Regions from separate parts of the Homo sapiens genome. Here regions 1 and 2 are each linked to region 3. Evidence: promoter capture Hi-C in 16 types of primary human blood cells and fetal thymus (Javierre and others, 2016). All regions are on one chromosome and are shown on one strand. Each heading gives the region's core, a stretch centred on a gene start or on the middle of the fragment in contact. The rest is flanking DNA. Distances are from core to core; before and after follow the strand shown. Region 1 overlaps TRAPPC12 (trafficking protein particle complex subunit 12). Region 2 overlaps TRAPPC12 (trafficking protein particle complex subunit 12). Region 3 holds the start of ALLC (allantoicase).

Evidence for each region. Contacts are between HindIII fragments. The CHiCAGO score rates a contact against its expected background, and 5 or more counts as called.
Region 1: a fragment that was not itself captured here is called in contact with the fragment with the promoter of ALLC in region 3 in 2 of 17 cell types (fetal thymus and naive CD4 T cells); the score reaches 6.5 in fetal thymus.
Region 2: a contact is called between a fragment that was not itself captured here and the fragment with the promoter of ALLC in region 3, in 3 of 17 cell types (non-activated CD4 T cells, total CD4 T cells and activated CD4 T cells). The highest score is 6.2, in non-activated CD4 T cells.

Annotation. Positions count from the first base shown.
Region 1 is chr2:3,381,521-3,384,869 of GRCh38, forward strand. All of the region lies in intron 1 of TRAPPC12 (trafficking protein particle complex subunit 12), which reads left to right. Among named protein-coding and RNA genes, the nearest start is that of TRAPPC12, 3.5 kb to the left of the region's middle. The HindIII fragment of the contact is 3,902 bases long and covers 20-3,349 here.
Region 2 is chr2:3,398,122-3,401,562 of GRCh38, forward strand. All of the region lies in intron 2 of TRAPPC12 (trafficking protein particle complex subunit 12), which reads left to right. Among named protein-coding and RNA genes, the nearest start is that of TRAPPC12, 20 kb to the left of the region's middle. RefSeq lists enhancers at 925-1,850, 1,851-2,776, 2,777-3,441. The HindIII fragment of the contact is 5,455 bases long and covers 1-3,441 here.
Region 3 is chr2:3,656,905-3,660,147 of GRCh38, forward strand. It overlaps ALLC (allantoicase), which reads left to right and starts at 1,296. Exons shown (of 12, transcript NM_018436.4): 1 at 1,296-1,390. RefSeq lists a silencer at 3,165-3,243. The HindIII fragment of the contact is 6,896 bases long and covers 1-3,243 here.

The DNA of each region.
Region 1 (3,349 bases), core at 721-3,220, 270 kb before region 3:
GCTTCTGTAAGCTTATGTAAGCTTAAAATCCTATTTATAGTTTAATAAAAATAAAGCCAATGATAGGAGGGAGTAAAGATTTCTATCACGTACAAATCAAGAACAGATACTTGTGTTTTTCCATTTTTAATTATGAACTATAAAGACTACCCGTAACACACATGTGAGATTTAAAGATCAAGTCAACCCAGTCTTCCATTACCAGCATAAGATGGGGACCATTTCCCAGTGCGTTGAAACTTCCGTGTGTCCCTCCCCAGTCAAGCTCTCCTGCCATCACCTTCCACCCCTCCCTCACTAAAGTGGCTGTTACTATATCCTGGCTTTTCTTTGTAGTTTGACCAAATATGTTTGTGTTCCTAACACAGAAAAAGTGTTTGGATTCAACACTTTTGTTTAATTTACATGTTTTTGAATATACAGAGTCATGCTGTTTATTTTTCTACTCATTCTTTGTGCAAAATTGTATTTGTGAGATCCAAACATAATTTATATGTTAGATATGGAAGAGTTCACTGATTTTCACCACTATTTTAATATTTTATGTCCTAGTATACCACAGTCTACTTATTTACTTATTATTGTGTCTACAGGCAGTGTTTATTTCCACTTTTTTTTTTTTTTTTTTTTTTTGAGATGGAGTCTTATTCTGCCGCCAGGCTGGAGTGCAGTGGCACGATCTTGGCTCACTGCAACCTCCGCCTCCTGGGTTCAAGTGATTCTGCTGCCTCAGCCTCCCAAGTAGCTGAGACTACAGGCGCCCGCCACCATGCCTGGCTAATTTTTTGTATTTTAATAGAGACAGCATTTCACTATGTTAGCCGGTATGGTCTTGATCTCCTGACCTCGTGGTCCGCCTGCCTCGGCCTCCCAAAGTGCTAGGATTACAGATGTGAGCCACCACGCCCAGCCTACTTTTTCTTTTAGGACTTTAGAAGAAAGGTATTTTGATGTGTTATTTATGAAATTCAGCATCATAGCTTACACTGCTCATGTACAGGAATTCCTCCATGATAGGTATCTAGCAGTGGAATTGCTAGGTCCTAGGTACTACGACCACATATTTATTGTCTCAACCAAGACTCCTTTAAGAGTGAAAGGAGACACTTAATGATTTTACTGAGGCGAAGCACGTGGCTCACGCCTGTAATCTCAGCACTTTGGGAGGCCAAGGCAGGAGGATCACTTGAGCTCAGAAGTTTGAGACCAGCCTGGCCAACATATTGAGTCCCCATCTCTACAAAAAATACAAAAATAGCTGAGTGTGGTGGTGCACACCTGTAGTCCCAGCTACTCCAGAGGCTGAGGCAGGAGGATGGGCTTGAGCCCAGAAGATCGAGGCTGCAGTAAGCCATCATCGTCCCATTGCACTCCCGCCAGGGTGACAGAGCCAGACTATGTCTCATAAAATAATAATACTAATAAAATAATAGAAATAACTTAAACCATGGGTGAAAAATTGAATTGTTCTGGGAAAAATCAAGATGTATAGTTATCAAAGTGATAAGATAATGTGCTTTTTAAACTTTACTAGATAATACCAAGTGGTTTCTCAACATGGATGTTCAAAGGTATACCTCTTTCAGCTCTGTTGCTTATTTTTCTAATGGATCATTTAGTGTGCTTTTATTAATTTGTAGGGATTCTTTATGTATTCTTCGTGTTAATCCTTTCTCAGTTACATTTGTTTGTTTCACTTTTTTTAGGTTTTTAATGATAGAACTTTCCATTTTAATATAGCAGATGTATCCATTTTCCCTTTATGGTTTGTACTGATTATGCCTAGTTTAAGAGGCTTTGCCTACTCTGAAAATATATTCTCTTATATTTTCTTCTGAAAGTTTTGAAGTTTTGCCTTTCACAGTTAATTTTTGATCCCCCACCCCCGCCCCGCCCGAGACGGAGTCTTTCTCTGTCACCCAGGCTGGAATGTCGTGCCTCAATCTTGGCTCACTACAACCTCTGCCTCCTGGGTTCAAGCGATTCTCCTGCCTCAGCCTCCCGAGTAGCAGAGTAGCTGGGATTACAGGTGCCCGCCACCACACCTGGCTAATTTTTGTATTTTTAGTAGAGACGGGGTTTTACCATGTCGGCCAGGCTCATCTTGAACTCCTGACCTCGTGATACGCCCGCCCCGGCCTCCGAAAGTGCTGGGATTACAGGCGTGAGCCACCGCACCCGGCCTTCACAGTTAAGTTTTTAACGTCCCTGAGATTGATACTGTGTCTGTGGTGAGACAAGATTCCAAGTTTATTTTTTCCCAGCTGCATGATTTGTCTACACATCACTCAAGGAAAATCGTCTCTTCCTTTGATGTGTGCTACATATTCCCTTGTGATAGTTCAGTCTTGTTTTTTTTTTTTTTTTTTTTTTTTTTTTTTTTTTTTTTTTTGAGATGAAGTTTCGCTGCTGTTGCCCAGGCTGGAGCACAGTGGTGCGATCTCGGCTCACTGCAACCTCCGCCTCCTGGGTTCAAGTGATTTTCCTGCCTCAGTATCCCAAGTAGCTGGGATTACAGGCGCCCTCCACCACACCTGGCTAATTTTTGTATATTTAGTAGAGACAGTGTTTCACCATGTTGACCAGGCTGGTCTTGAACTTCTGACCTCAGGTGATCCACCCTCCTCGGCCTCCCAAATTGCTAGGATTACAGGCCTGAACCACCGTGCCTGGCCCAATATTTCAGTCTTTATACCATAGATTTTTGATGTATTCTACATAAATAATCATACACGAAGAATGAAGGTTTGTATTTTTTTCTTTTCAGTTTTTATTGTAGCTTTTAGTTATTTTTCTTGCCTTAATCCTGCCCGAGGACTCCAGTATTAGGCAGCATAAAAATGTTGAAGAGGACATCTTTATCTTTTTTCTACTTTTAAAGAGAATGCTTTAAACGTTTCACTGTTAATTTGAGGTTTCCTTTAGGTTTTTGGTAGATACCTTTGATTGCATTAAGGAAGTTACTTTCTGTTGCTAGTTTGCTGACAGGTTTTATCTTGAGCAGATGCTGAATTTTATTAGATACTTTCTTGTGCATCTATTGAGATAGTCATGTACTTTTATTTAATCTATCGCATTAAACCAACAGTACATTTCTGGGATTACCTGAGTTTGGTAGAAAATAAATACATTGCTGATTCAGTTAGCTAATATTTCAAGATTTTTGCATGTGTGTTCATGAGTGAGATGATAGCTTCCCTTTTAGTATGGCCTTGTCAAATTTTGGTCTCAAGGTTATATTAGCCTTATAAAGTGAATTGGGTCATGTGTCTTTTTTCTTCTCTGCAAGAATTTTTGTACTGTAGGAATTATCTGTACGGAATCTTTGGTAGAATTCACTGGTAAACCC
Region 2 (3,441 bases), core at 170-2,669, 260 kb before region 3:
TTGGGCTGTTTCTACCTTTTGGCTGTTGTGAGTAATGCTACTGTGAACATTCACACACAGGCGTTTGTGTCTATGTGTTCTCAGTGATCTGGGATGTATAGCTAGGTGTGGACTTGCTGGATTCTGTGGTAACTCTGTTCAACATTTTGAGGCCCCGCCAGACAGTTTTCTAAAATGGCTATTCCATGTTGACTCCCCACCAATGATGTGGTGTGTGAGGGTTCCAGTTGCTCCACATCCTTGAGTTTGGGTTTGGGTTTTAATTGTTGTGGTTTTTTTGTTCAGGTGGTCTCATTTTTCCCTGGAGTAAGCAAACACTGGATCAGAGGATAGACCCTGCCAGGATAAACAGGCACCTTTCTGCATTGGCGATGTGGCAGAAAGCTCAGCGTGTTCTGTGCCAGGTGCAGGGGCTGCTGCCTTTCAGCAGCGCTACCCCGTGAGCATTTGTGTCTTTGGGCTTCCCAGACAGTAAGGCCCATACGCTTTCAGTCCACTGCTCTGGCTTCTGTTTTGTCTTTCACCATCAAAATCAAGAAGGGACTACTGAGACTATTCCCCCATTGCAGGAAAGGCAGCCAGGCCCTAACCGCCTGTCAGCCGTGAGAACAGCCACTTGCTCCTCCATAAATGCACCTGACCAGGAGAATGGGGTGGCGACATCACGATGAGTCCCAGATTGTGATATATTCATGTGTTTCCTTCGTGTTCCCTGAACCTTGCCCTGGATAAAGTAGACCCTCACTGAATGGCTTGCTGGTCTGAAGGAATCATTGGTTCTAGCTGGATTCCATCCCAGGTGTAGTAGCACAGCTCTCTAGAAAGCCCTGGGGGAAGTTCCCTCCCCCTCCCACCTCCCCTGCACAGTAACGGCTAGAGGAGATGCAGTACAAGCGTCTCCACCTCCCTGCGCTGTCACCACCTTCAGTTAGCCACACAGCAAGGGCGAGGTTTGTCCTAAGACGCTTGTCACATCCTTGGCCCTCTGTTGGTGGGATATTTGATAGTCATGCATATGCTAGTATCTCAGGAACTTGCTGTGGTAGCTAAAATATTAACTAACAGAGAATTTTAAGGACAAGAGATTTTCACAGCATGGTCTCATTGATAATGTTGTGGGGATGGAGGAGTTGAATTGGCCCTCCGTCCCTGGCATTACAATTTGATTTTGCTCTTTACCCAGCTCGCTGCCCCCCTGGCTGAGATGCTCTTTGTCTGAGACGAGTTGCATTTTTGCAGAGCTTTATGGGGCCCTGTGTCTGAACTCTTTTATTTTGCCTTTTAATTATTGCTGCTAGATCAGTTAGCTGATTTTGTGGATCTGGTATTTGAAGTACTTCACCTTATGCTCTGAAAGCAGAAATTATACAACTGCTGCCCCTAGGTCTTTTCCTCAATGTGAGAAAACGTGAGGCTGGCCTCTGCGAGCACCAGGTTTAGCACCCAGGGAAGAGACAGACCTATGACCTGGAGCCACCCAGCCCCTTCTGCCGCAGGCTGTTGATCTCTCCTGGTAGAAGGGAGGCAGCAGAGCAGAGAAGCAATGTCAGCAGCTTTTCTGATTCTCTTGCTCTCATGGTCTAGATTCTGTTCTTCTTTTAAGTGTCACTATTTTGAAAGATAGCAAAAGATTGAAATAACCTTGCTTCTTAGGAGAAACAACTTCTATGCTTTTCTTTCCCCCGCTCCCCCCGCCACCGCCCCGCCGCCAAAAAAAAAAGGGTAGGAGAACAATAGGAAGAGATCTGAGCCAGCGGTGAAGTCCAGGCAGGGGGCACGCAGGCTTCTCTGCACCCTCAGTCACTGCGTGCTCCCAGTGGCCCGCCTGCAGCATGAGCATCAGCTTCTCTGTGGCTGGGAGGCAGCTTTGTGCTGAGATGGAGAGATCTTGGCTTTCTCCACCCCCCATCTTGGGGTTGTCCTAGTTTGAGTCTTTCTTCTGCTCACCCGAGAGACTGCAGGGACTTTGTGCTGTGTCCCTGTCAGCAGCTGCTGCGGGCCAGACGCCCAGAGCACGTGTCAGGGAAGATCCAGCCAGCTCCGGCTGCTTGCTGTCTCCAGGCATTTCAGGGACCTCAGAGCCACTGCTTCCTCCTCCCAGGATGCTCACTGTCTCTGGCATTTCAGGGACCTCAGAGCCACTGCTTCCTCCTCCCAGGATGCTCACTGTCTCTGGCGTTTCAGGGACCTCAGAGCCACTGCTTCCTCCTCCCAGGATACTCACTGTCTCTGGCGTTTCAGGGACCTCAGAGCCACTGCTTCCTCCTCCCAGGATACTCACTGTCTCTGGCGTTTCAGGGACCTCAGCGCTGCTTCCCTTTCCCCCTGGGCTGCTCTATCCCCCCAGCTGCCCCTGCCTCAGGTGTTTCAGGGACCTCAGTGCTGCTGCCCCTTCCCAGGTGCCTTTCCTCAGTCAGCAGCACCCCCAGAAAGGAGAGAGATGGTCCAGGGCTGTGTCCTGGTCCCAGCTGTGTGTGAGAGGCGTCTCCTGCCGCCCGTGGAGAGCATCGTGTCCTGTGAGCAGCCTTTACTTACCCTGGACTCTCCCTCGGCCTGCGGTGCAGCCACCGAAACAGCACTGAGGCCTGTGGACTGTGACAGTTTTCTCTGCACTGTTGGGATGACTAGTTTGTCCCCATACAACAGACTTGGTAACTTCAGGCCCTTCCCTGGGGCCCCTGAACTGTGCCGACTCCCGAGGGTCATGAAGGCTGGCTCGCCCAGCATCTGGGCTTGACACTAGCTGTGAGATTGCTCCCTGCTCAGGGCAGGTCATTGGCACATCTCTTCTGTCCCCAGGCCACACAAAAGCACCTGTTCTCCCTCCCCTTGCCCTTCTGTGTCTTCCCTTTAAAGCAAGTGGCATGCTTCAGATTCCACGTCCAGTGTTCTTCAGCACCGTCTAAAGATCGTTCTAATCAGAGGAGTCAGGTCAGGAGTAGAAACGGTCCCGTGCAGAGGCAACTGGATTCTTCCCTGGCTTGCAGCATGAAGTGCGCCCAGCAGCTCCTGGAGCAAGGCCTGGCTCAGCGAGGCTACCGAGGACCTGCTGTGAAAGGGGGTCTCAGTTTTCCTTTGGCTTGGCTGGTGACCTCAGCACTGAAGAGAGGGCCATTGGTAATTTAACTTCTTTAGCCCTAGCCCTCCAGGCTTTCCTGGAGGTCCAGGCAAGCATGGAGGCATTGATGAGATTTGGGAAGACTATTCAGGCCTGCCTGCACCAGCGCGAGGCTGGCCACTGTGGGTGCAGCCCCTGGTCCCCAGCAGTGTCACCTTCATGCTCCTGGGCCTCCCTAGGCCCCTCACCTGAGGCCTCTCTGCTGGCTTGGCTTTGCCTCTCACTACAAGCCTGGTAGTAGGCGGTAGGACTTACCGTTTCCTCTTCAGAATAAAGAACATGCTTTCTGATCAGTGGTGAATAAAGATATAATTTTTAAAATA
Region 3 (3,243 bases), core at 46-2,545:
AAACCACGAGGATAAAAATAGGCCCTTCTGTTCTCCGCACCGTGAGCTTTGTGACTGATCCGAGGCGGCGAGCGGGGGCACTGCACTGCTGTGGCGGGGAAGTCACGGCTGACAAGAACTGCCAGGGACGAAGCCACGTGCATTAATTCATTAAAATACAGTCAGCTATGGAAGGCAGCATAGGATGTGGTTTCGTTCTTAAAGAATTTCATCTGGATGGGCAGACAGATGTGTAAACATGGACTCAAAGGCCGGGCGAGCTGAGATCAGACAACAGGCGCTGGACGCATCCTAACTACGGCTGGGTGGCGGGGCTGAGAGACGGGCTGGGGTTGGGGGTGGGGTTCTCAGTTGGAGGTGGCCTTGAGCCGGCCTTTCAAATGGCTTTGCTTTCCTCTGGGAAAGCTGGAGTTCAGGAGGAGAAGGCCGGTCAGGCCCTGGGGAAAGAAAACCCAGGAAGGAAAAAGGAGCGTGTGGGTGATGGATCTCCCTGGGACGCAGGTTGTCTTTCTGGAGCCCCAAGGGCCCCTGTGCGCGCCATCTGCTGTGCTGGGTTCTGGTTCCAGCTCAGTCCCTCCCTGCGCAGGTGACCTCGGGTGGCTTTCCTGCCTTCAAGGCCCCAGCTGATTCATCTGCAGAGTGGATAGCTTGCCCCGCAGGGTGGCTGTGGTGAAGCAAGGCAACGTCTGTTACTGCATGTCGAAGCCGGGCTCAGCTGTTTCTTTCTGCATGGAAAGTTCTTCTGCAGACAGTGGGGCCTTTGAAGGCAGGCGGCACGTGTTGTTTTGTATGCCACAGGCCTAGCATCCACTTGGCAAGGTGCCCTTTCTTAAGCATCTGTGGGCTTCTTTAAATTCCATGAAAATTTTGTGTGTATTTACTTTTTCTGGGGCTGAGGGGCTCTAGCCAAACCCTCCCAAGGGCCCCTGTCTTCTCTAGTAGGTCAGGACCCACTGCTGGGTGTGCTCAGTGTTTTCTGAGTTAATGATGATTAGTGAATAGGTGACGTCTAGAGATAAAACTTTAAGTCAGGTTACTGGCCGGACCAGGAAGGTGGGGGTTTCAGGCCCAGGCCAGTGGCCGGAGGCAGCTTTGTTAGGGACAGGGAAGGGCCCTGGGACCAGCAGGGACCATGTCTGGCTTCGGGCCTTGTGCGAGGGTCTTGCAGAGGCCTGCTTGGCTTCTCCGGGGAGGGGCTGCTCCCCCTGTTACTTCCACCTCTCTGCAACCCTTGTGACATCATACAGGCACAGCCAATCTCTGCAAAGTTCTGTCTCTACCTCAGGCCCCTATACATTCTCTCTGAGCTGGCACTCAAGCACCGTGGGACCTTGGCTGGCTTCTGGGGAGCAAGAGATCCATTTATGAATACTTGATTTCTGACTGCTGGGTGAGCTGGAGTGTGGTTTATAAATACCTTGCTATCTTTAAGGTGGGCTTTGCCAAAAGAATAGGGTGACAGAGATGAATTTCAGTCATGCAACGAACCCTCGACACTTGGAAGGTGACAGAGGGTAGATGGTGACAGACACCACTTTGTGCCGTTGAACTGTGTTGGTACCGGGCGTGGCCCAAACACCTGGAGGGGCCCCACAGGTGGGTCAGGCTTCTGGGCTCTGGTCACTGCTCTGTTTGGTTTCAAATCATGTGACTTTGGCCTTCTTAAAAAAAAATCTAAAGAGGCTGGGCATGGTGGCTCATGCCTGTAATCCCTGTACTTTGGGAGGCCGAGGTGGGTGGATTGCTTGAGTTGAGGAGTTTGAGACCAGCCTGAACAACATGGCAAGACCCCATTTCTACCAAAAATCAAAAAAATAGCCAGGCATGGTGGTGCGTGCCTGTGGTCCCAGCTACTTGGGAGGCTGACATGGGAGAATTGCTTGAGCCCGGGATGGGATTGGGGTGGAGGTTGCAATGAGCCAAGATCATGCCACTGTACTCCAGCCTGGATGACAGAGTGAGACCCTGTCTCAAAAAAAAAAAAAAAAAAACCTAAACAACTAAGGCCATGGTGAAGTAAACCTATATTCAAAACAAGAGTCACAAAGTAGAACTAAATGTAAATATATACCAAGAGTTGCCGGTAGTCAGGAGTCTCGTGCAGTTGACCTTGGGCTGCTCAGAGTCCCTGCTCAAGGTCACTCTAATTTTGTCCCAAATTTGAACAAACCACTTTTATTATTTCACCATAAATCTCATACTTTTGGCCAAAGGCTTCTTCGGAACTTATTGACAGCGATGACAAAGCCCCTGAAGGTTTTCTTCTTTACGAGGGAGTAACTCTTCCATCAGCACAGCCTTCCCTGCTTGTCAGAGGGAGGTCTCTCTTTCTTGTGCTTCCTAGACTTGCCTGGTCATGCCTTTTCTTATTTTAAGGCTAATCTCAAAAGAAAAAATAGTGTGAGCACCACTTGACTGCCTGAAATTTCATGACTCTATTTTAGAGAGTCATTGCCTCATCGCCTTGCCGTAACCCATGACAATGCTCCTCATTTGCGGTGATTAAGTTGAAATTTGCAGGTAAAACTTTAGCATGTTCCTCAAACATCAGAGCTGACCCTGGGTCTGGTCTCAGCCACAGCAGAAAATGTATTTAAGAGCTCCCTTGAGCAGGCAGTGGGAGGGGTTGCAGCAATGAGCTTAGAAGCAGCTGCCACAGGCTGTCTGAGCACTGTGAGCTGCTGAGCTGGTGGCCTCAGCCGAGGTCGCGTGGCTCCTTCCTTTCTTGCCTAGACCTTGGCTATTTTATCAACAGAAACGGCAGGGACCAGTGAGCAGAGAGCTCAGCAAGCTCATGGCGCAAGAGTCGTGGAGCTGTGACCTCCACCAGGGCTGAGAACGGCCCCTTATACCGCCAGCTCTTGGCTGCCTGGAATCTCTCGGGAACCTCCACGGGGCCCTGCACAGCACAGGCCACTGTGGATACTTCTGGGATTTGTGGCTGAGGAGAGAAACTTAGGAAAGACAAATGTCACGGCCCTTTCACAGCAGACACTGGTTGGGCCTGTGCTGTGGCCTGGAGGCCCAGCTTTAAACGGTCTCTCCTTTCTCACATTTTTTTATCTTAGGGGTGGGGAGACTTTTCACATAACAGCCTTTGAGGTTGTGGGGTGCTATGGTTTGGATGTTTGTCCCCCCAAACCTCATGGTGCAATCAGATCCCCCGTGTTGGAGGTGGGGCCCAGCGGGAGGAGTCTGGGTTATGGGGGCGGATCCCTCATGAATGGCTTGGTGCCGTTCTGG